Regions from separate parts of the Homo sapiens genome. Here region 2 is linked to region 1. The links are contacts of gene promoters, found by promoter capture Hi-C in blood cells and fetal thymus (Javierre and others, 2016). All regions are on one chromosome and are shown on one strand. Each heading gives the region's core, a stretch centred on a gene start or on the middle of the fragment in contact. The rest is flanking DNA. Distances are from core to core; before and after follow the strand shown.

Region 1 (4,721 bases), core at 1,913-4,412:
TGACCAGATCAGGGCTAAGGACCCCACAAAGAACTCTGGCAGGGTTCATGCATGACCAGGTTCAAGCACTTATAAAGGCACTTGACTGCACTATTATCCAGTACTCCTCAATCTTCTCTACAAAACCTTGCTCCATGCCTTTCTGAAACCCAAGGACATCGTCTGCAGCTTCCCCCTGCATATAGATGGAAAAAAAAAATCAAAAGAAAGAAAGAGTCACCAGGCTGACATCAATTACACAGATAAAGGAAAGGAGCAACTAAAGAAATGCTTAACAACAAAGCTCTTACCAAATCCAAAGGAGAATATGACAGAATTTTTAAAAAGAGAAAATAAAGCTACAAAGGGAATTTCCTGGAAGCCAAGTGTTATCACTGGCACAGATGTTGAGAAGCAGGCCCACAGTCCCATTTAACCCCACTGTCCTTTTCCCTAATCTATGTCCCGATATAGGCACCTAAAAATAAGTGGGAAAAAGTCATATATTAAAAAAAGACGAAAGAATGGAACTGCAGAAAATAACCAGAAATTATGCCCTATTGAGCACTGATACACGCTAAATTAAGCCTGCACAGGCCATTTTTTAAATATGCAATTACTCTTCTTGAAGGGAAAAGTTGAAAAATAGGAATGGAGTGGTTTTGCTTCCCACCCCCACCCACTCCAGGGCTCCATCTTGCACATCTGTGTTCTCCCAAGCTAGCAATGGGGCAGCAATCCCTGCCTCCCCCAGTCCCTCTCCTACATAGCCAAGGCTCTAAAGTCCCCTCACCCCCTCCCTGCCCCCTTCATCCCTGTTGGCATTACCTTGGTTCCCAGCTTTGTACCCATACCTGGCTGGGACTATCCGAATACCTCCTGATCTGTCTCCCTCCTTCCAGCCCAATCCACATGGTGCCACCCAAGAACACTTCCTAAAAAGCACACCCTGTCACTCCCCTTCCTCAGAACCTCTGTAGAGAGTTCTCTACCCATGGCCTTCTGAGATCTGTTTCAATCCCTCTCATCAGTCTCCCCTCCTGCTGTCCTTCCCACACTTCCTGCATTTTAGCCACAGACTGAACTTGGAGGACTCTGGGATCAGACAGTCTGGGTTCAAATCCTGGTTCTATCACCTGCTAGTTCTAGGACCCTGGACGAGTTTCTTAACTTCTATCTCGAAGTCTGTTCCCCATCTGTCAATGCGGTCCCTAATAAATAGTATTTCCTACATAGGACTGTTGTAAGGATGAAATAACGCTCCTAGACTACTAAGCATGATGCCTGGCACACACTACATGTTTCCTACTAACTGTTATTGTTAATACCATCTCTGAAACATGCTGTGCTTTCCCCTACCTTGACTTCTTCACCTGCCTCAAGAATTCCCCTTCATCCTTAGAGATCCAGTTCCCTGTCACCTCCTTCAGGCTTTCATCCCATGCTGTTCACACCCCTATTACAGTCATCACACTGCTCTGTAATCACTTATTGTGATTATAATCGATGTGACAGAACTTAGAGCAGGTTTTGGAGACAAAGAACCCTAGTTTAAAAGCCTACCTCTGCTATCTACTAGCTGTGTAATCCTGGCCAACCTGGTTGACTTCTCTGGACTTCTGCTTCCCCCACTGTAAACTGGAGAAAAGAATAACCCACCTCACAGGGGTTTTGTAAAGACCAACCTAGCTAACTTATGGAAAGTGCCTAGCACAGGGGCTGGCACATCTTAAGTGCTTGAACATCTTTTTTTTTTTTTTTTTGTCCTGAGACAGGGTCTCACTCTGTCACCCAGGCTGGAGTACAGTAGCATGATCAGGGATCACTGCAGTCACAACTGCCCGGGCTCAAACGATTCTACCTCAGCCTCTCAAGTGGCCGGGATCACAGGCACACGCCACCACGTCTGGCTAATTTTTTTAATTATTTATAGAAACGAAGTCTTACTATGTTGCCCAGGCTGGTCTCAAAATTCTAGGCTCAAGTGATCCTCTTTCCTCAGCCTCCTACGGTGCTGAGATTATGGGCATGAGCCACTGCGCCCAGCGTTGAACATCTTACCCTTTCCTACTTTATTTGGCTTTCTGTTCCTTGCTGACTGTAAGCTTCTGAAGAACAAGAAACTATACTGTATTAGTTCAACACCTGTGAAATGAAGGGAAATTAGTAAGAAAAATATATATACGGTTATTAGTCACTCCTCCACAGTTTATAGTACCTGAACCATAACAGAAGTTCCATAGATGTCAATTGATTCCCAAGTTACCAGAGGAAACTAAAGCCAGCAGGAAACTGTCCTGAAGTCAAGAACCTATGGCAGGTGAACCCAGAAAACATTACGCTAAGTGAACAAACCCAGTCACAAGGGGCTACTTAATGTATGATTCCATTTATACGAAACATCCAGAATAGGCAAAAGTACAGAGACAGAAGTACATTGGTGGTTGCCTAGGGCTGGGAGAATGGGAGTAGATGGGAGGGGGGAGTGACAGCTAAAGGAGGTGTTTCTTTTGGGGGGTAATGTTCTAAAACATTATGGTGACAGCTGCACAACTCTGCAAACACACTAAAAGACACTGAATTGTGCACTTTAGATGGGTGAACTGTATGCTTCGTGAATTATATCTCAATAAAACTTTTTAAAACAATAACCACAAAAAGGATCAATCCTAGGAGCGAAAGGGTTTTGGCCACGGAGCAACTTGCTCTTACGCAGAAGCATAAATCATCACGACAAGGTTGCTCCGGCCACCGGGTGCCGCGGGCAGAGGGACGGTGGAGGGGACATTCTCCTTTTAAAAGTGGCCAGGCCCGTGAGCCTCTGAGAGGCTGGCCTCCGGGCTGCCCCGGACCTCGCGCCCCTAGCTCGCGCTGCAGGCCTTTCCTGCTCCTCCGAGGCCGCCCGGCCAGGCCTGCGTCAAGCCCGGGCGCCGCGCTCCGGTGCACTCAGCTCTCCGGTGGAAGAGCGCAGACCGCAAGGGAAAAGGTGCCGGCGCGGGTCGCCCCTAGGTCTTCAATAGATCCGAGGACACCCGAGGCCTCCACATCCCTAGCCCGCCCCCGCCACCCAGTGGCTCCGGCCGCCGCTGCCCCCGCGCCCCCGCCCTCGGCCTCGGCCTGCGCAGCGCGGCTCACCAGCCTCCAGGGGAACGCCAGCCCCGGACGCCGCCGCGGCGACGAGTGCGCCTGCGCCCCGGGGACTGAGCGGCACCGCCCCTGCCCGGCGACGGTGAGCCCAGCGCCCTCTGCCGGCCGCGCGCGGGACTCGGGGTCCTACTGGGTGCCTCTTCCTAGATCCGACCCCACCCAGTTGAAAGCTGTCCCCACTAACAGCCTTCGTTACCTGTTACCTCAAACACCCACTCTGCCTTCTGGCTGTTGCTACGCCGGATATAAGCCCTAAAGGCACTCTCTCCTCCTTATTCCTGAATATGGATTGTGCTATGAATATGGGGTGTTCAAGATCTCTGAAAGGCTTGCTGGAGGACTTTTCCTGAACCTCTCGTGTTGATGACAAGAATTGTGTTTGGATAGGAATCTGCGTTTTGAATCATTTCACCAAATTACAGTCCCATAACACCTGTCAAAAGAATAAATATGACAGTAATAAGCATGCTTCCTTTCAGACCCATCTATAATTATAATTGAGGAAAATAATACAAAATTTAAACTTAGAGCTACTGCCAGTATCATTCTTTGAAAATGAAATAATGCTGTTTATTAAATAGGCTCTCCCTGCTCTCTAATGTTTAAAGCTCAAGTGCTTCTCTGAATTGATTTAAATACAAGTTTTATATCCTGAAAGAAATCAAGATGAGTCATTATCTTAAGACAAACCCCCCTGTTCAATGATGCTGCTGATCTCTCAGCTGATGTCTAAGCGGGAGTTAGGTTGTTAGTGGATAATATTGCTTCTGTTCACGTCTCTCTTCTCCAGGGCTTTTTAAACCTGTTTGTAACGAAAAGGCTGATTTCCTTCAGACTCCATGTGTCGTTGATTTAACAGGACAACTTCTTACAGGTTTTTCTTTTTCCTTTTTCTTTTTTTTTTTTTAAGTAAAACATTGCTCCCCGGTGGCACCTGGGAATCTGTTTTTCTTCTCTTAGGATAAGAGAAGCAGGGATATTTCTTAACGGAAGTTTTGTTTTGTTCCTAACTCCCTTTAGAGCTTCCTCTTTTCTTTTTTTTTCTCTTCACCTAACATACTAGACTTCCCTCAAATCGGGGGTGGGGGATGGGAAGGTGGGGTTCCCTCCCTTGAAATATTCAGATAATTGCTTCCATTTATTTTAAAGATGTAGACTTGGACAAATATATCTGAAAGATACAATTGTACCCTCATAAATCAGCCCTCTTATTTACACATGCATAATCAAGGGCACGTCATTAATGCAGAGCCAATCAATAAATCATTAAGCTTTTAAAGCCCTTATTAAGAACAATCTGCAGTAACATCATCCACTCCTGTGCTCAGTCTTAGGATCATTTAATAATTTTAAGAAATTTCACAGTCTGTTCTGTAGTCTCATCTCCCTTTTGTTCCTAGATAGCTGTATTCCTGCATCAGAAACATGGTTCTAATACCTAGATCTCATAAAATATTGAAGATGCAAGCTGTTTGCTTTACCTCTGAAAGGCTCCACCTTCAGAATCACTTGTGCCTCTTCCAATTTTACAAACGCACAAGATTTTAACTTTCACAACAATTTCTTATAAACATCCAAATACTAAGAAAAAAAAA
Region 2 (4,234 bases), core at 237-2,736, 270 kb after region 1:
TGAATGAAGACACTGGTCTTCTAAGATTTCACAAATATTTTTAAAGTGGTTCATTACCCTCTTGATTCTGAGCGGTAAAGAATACTACTGACAGTGTGGGCAAGTTCCTGAATTTTGTTCTATCAGTGAAACATCTGTCCTGGGAAAGGCTCCCTGTAGTAATGGAAACTGTTTTGTTGGAGCAGGCTCCGAGTTGCAGGTTAAGAGTATCAATAGCAGCAGTCCAATAGCCACACTGACTAGCAATCTAAGGTTATTAGTATGGTCTTAACTCGAGTGCCTAAGAAGCTTATCTGTATTTAAACCTACATAATTGTTTAAATTATAGACATTATCTCTAGACTTTGCAAACCTTTGGTGACATTTTATTTTACTGTAGCAAAATTACGGTATTTTGAGGTGGGACTAGCTTTTAATAATGTTCATTATGCAGTTATTTAGGGAACAATTTTAAATCCTCTACTGTTTTCTTCCAAGGTTTTTTTTAAATTATTGGTTGAGTAAAAGGAATTAAATATCTGCAATTAAATCTGTTTGTTATTTCAGGTTTGAAATATCTCCATTCAGCTGGCATTTTACATCGAGACATTAAGCCAGGGAATCTCCTTGTGAACAGCAACTGTGTTCTAAAGGTAGCTTTTCAGTTTATTTAAATACCTGGGAAAAATCAGAATGTCAGGGCAGGTTTAAGAACAACATATTTTTGTGAAAGAAAGAAGTTCATTTCCATTACTTTACCAAAAGTTAACCCAGTTTTCTCCATATCACTACTCATAGCCATGGTAATAATTTGTAGTCCTGCCTCATGTTCTTTTCATGATATTTGGCCTATGTTTTAGAAACACTGAAATTGGAATTGTAGTGTAACTAGAAAGAAGAATAGACAAGGTGACTCCTTTACAGCTTGTTCCATTATTAAAAGAAGTGCATATCAGAAGAAATATTAGAACAGCAAGCATCTGTTTATATAAGAGAATGAAGTGTGACTTTTAGGAAGACCATTTACATTTTTACACAGCTAACATATCTATATGCTGTTTGACCAAGGTAGCAAAGTAAGAAGTAGAAACATATTTAAAAGGGATAGTGCTGGCCAGACACGGTGGCTCATGCCTGTAATTCCAGCATTTTGGGAGGCTGAGGCGGGCAGATTGCTTGAGCCCAGGAGTTCAAGACCAGCCTGGGCAATGCAGCAAAACCCCATCTCAATAAAAAATTCAAAAATTAGCTAGGTGTGGTTGCACATGCCTGTAGTTCCAGCTACTCAGAAGGCTGAGATGGGAGGATCACCTGAGCCCAGAGCGTGAAGGCTGCAGTGAGCTGTGATCACACCACTGCACTTCCACCTAGGTGACAGAGTGAGACCCTGTCTCAAAAAAAAAAAAAAAAAAAGTGAAAATGCCAAACCAGAAAAGGGTAATATGCATCTATCCAATGTATTTCCATAATGTATAGTAGCCAATTCTTAATTATTCCTCTGAAGAGGAATTGATTACAGAATTATATTTAGTAGTTCCAAAATTTCAAGTCATCAGTTTCAGTTTTACTTCTCTTCCCTAGTACAGCCATTGTCTTTCATTTAAAAAGGGGCTTGCAAATAGCAAAGTCCACATATTTGTATTTCCCTACCTCTAATACAGATGTGTATTGGCAGAACTCTTGAATAGAGAGAGGTCCACTATATTTTTCCTCATAATAGAAATTGGAAATAAGGGCCTTTAACTGCTATATTTGAAAAGAAAAATAAATTTTTAAAATGTTACCCACTTTAAAAGTAATCAAGACTATCATTATTACTTAGGTTGCTGGCGGTTAAACTAAGTAATAAAACCAAGTGTATAAATAAAATTCATTTTTTATTTTAAATGATTTCTCTGAACTGTAGGTCAGTTCTCTTGAAAAGCTGGTGGATTATACTGCTTATGAATGAAAATTCTCCCTTCATTATAGCCTTGAAGAACCCTCACCCTTATTTTAACTCAAGAAAGATGAAAACCTATTTTTCATATTTTCCCTAAAAATAGCTGATGTTGTAATTCAGTCTTTTGTTTCCACAGAGAAGTTAATTGCCACCAAAATCTACTAAAGTATTCCTTCTATAGGTTATTGAGTTTTTCCTGCCACCTTTTCACTTTTTAAAGAGAACTTGCAACCTATCCCCATAATCGTTTTTTAATTAAAAAAAAAATTTAAACCTTATAGTTAGAAATTTTTTTGTCCTATTCATACCTAATCAATCTTACGACAGTTTAAGCCAATTTCTTCTTATTTTGGTTTTTGATTGGAAGACTTCACACAGGATTTTGTGCAGGACCTGTCATGTTTGATGCCATTAACTGCTTGAAGTTCATTTTCCAAATTGTCCGTTATGGTTTTATAACCTTGGACTGTATGAATGGGCAACTAAAGGAAAATGCCATTTGTGAATACACAACACACAAATCAGAACAAACAAATTTTGCTCCACTCCTTTGACTCATCTTATGGGCCTACTTTTAAAAAGCCAGAATAGAGTCTAGGCTATAGACACTAGTTCTTTCTTCTCAAACATACAAATTCATTGAAGATCATTATAACAAAACATTTTTTAAAAATCAGTATCCTTCCATATCGTGAATGTATTTTGTTTCCTATTAAGCACAAGATGGATAATTTTGCTGGAATTTTTTTAGTTATCTGATCATGTAAGCTTCCTATTTTGGACTCAGGTTGTCTTCCAAATAAGTTGCTAAAAATGACGAAATCATACTGATGTTTTTAATAAGGGATTTGCTTTATAACAGAAGGCCTTTTTTTGTTGGATGGGTGGTTGGTTGGTTTTTCTCATATAAATATGAGAAAAAAATTATGTTCTTTCCTTTTGTTGGTTTGGTTTTTAAAAATATCCTCAAGAGTCATGGCCAAGTAATAGAGTTTTTAAAATATTATATGTTATTTTGGCCGGGCGCAGTGGCTCACGCCTGTAATCCCAGCACTGGGAGGCTGAGGTGGGCAGATCACTTGAGGCCAGGAACTTGAGACCAGCCTGGCCAACATGGCAAAACCCTGTCTCTACTAAAAATACAAAAATTAGCCAGGCGTGGTGGCGCATGCCACTAGTCCCAGCTGCTCAGGAGGCAGAGACACGAGAATCACTTGAACCTGAGAGGCAGACGTTGCAGTGAGCCGACATCATGTCAGTGCACTTCAGTCTGGGTGACAGAGTGAGACTGTCTCAAAAAATATATATATATATATGTTATTTGAACATATTTGATGAACTCGGGCTTTTGTTGTTATGTTATATGGTTTATCTGTATAGTATGGAAAATTTTCCTGCTTTCTTAAGTTGTAAAGATGGTGGCTTCATACTGATTCATTCCCACATACACATCTGAATTCATTTGATGTAACCAGACATAGTAGATTCAAATCAGAAAGAGGGGATTGCCAAAAATTGGGGGATAAATTTTGTTTTCTTTAGAACGGGGTTTTCAGATTTTCTTTTTAAGCTGCCGGAACTCTTTTTCAAATAAAATCTTATTTGGGGACTTCAATTTAGAAAACAGATTTAAAATCATATTTTATCACTTGCAATATTGTGACTTGTAAAGTTAATCAGTGAGAACACTGGAGCTTAGATGGCCATTACTATCTGATCTCATCCTCAGTGCTCCTAGTTGTGTTTTGATTGCCCAATATCAAGAAAATTTTAATTCCTAAAGATAAGTAGTAGTTGCTGGTGGTGGCACGGCTGCTGTTTATTAATAGCTCACCTTGTAACCCTCAGCATACTTTTCAGTTGAGCAGAAATAGCAAGAAAAGATTTATTTCTAAGTTTGTATAGAAGTTAACCTGTCTTTATTATTTATTGCTGTATCTCCAGATTCTAACATACAGTCTGTAATATAACAAGTACTAACTTAAATATTTATGGCATGAAGAAATGAATGAACCCCATAGCATTAGTATTCTACCATATACTGCATTTTAACATATTTATACATTTGAGTATGAATTTGTATTTTAAATAGATAGGTACATGTGAAGTTTGGATATAATATTCATGGAATGCCTAAAGTCAGAAGTAGATTCAACTGGAGTCAGTTTGAAACCCATTGCTTTAAAGAAATTCACATATATTTCATAAAGACGACAGACACAGTCTCAGCTAAGGAGACCTTCAAGATACACCCCTTTATCTTATGATATCTTCCTCTCTAAACTAGTCTTGAAAGTAATTGGTTTTGTGGGG

Evidence for each region. Contacts are between HindIII fragments. The CHiCAGO score rates a contact against its expected background, and 5 or more counts as called.
Region 2: a contact is called between a fragment that was not itself captured here and the fragment with the promoter of LYRM9 in region 1, in 6 of 17 cell types (M2 macrophages, megakaryocytes, M1 macrophages and 3 more). The highest score is 11.4, in M2 macrophages.

Annotation. Positions count from the first base shown.
Region 1 is chr17:27,890,203-27,894,923 of GRCh38, forward strand. LYRM9 (LYR motif containing 9) reads right to left here and starts at 3,163. Exons shown (of 4, transcript NM_001076680.3): 1 at 3,115-3,163. RefSeq lists a silencer at 2,795-3,344. The HindIII fragment of the contact is 2,313 bases long and covers 2,083-4,395 here.
Region 2 is chr17:28,162,997-28,167,230 of GRCh38, forward strand. NLK (nemo like kinase) reads left to right here. Exons shown (of 11, transcript NM_016231.5): 5 at 547-632. Among named protein-coding and RNA genes, the nearest start is that of NLK, 120 kb to the left of the region's middle. The HindIII fragment of the contact is 2,401 bases long and covers 287-2,687 here.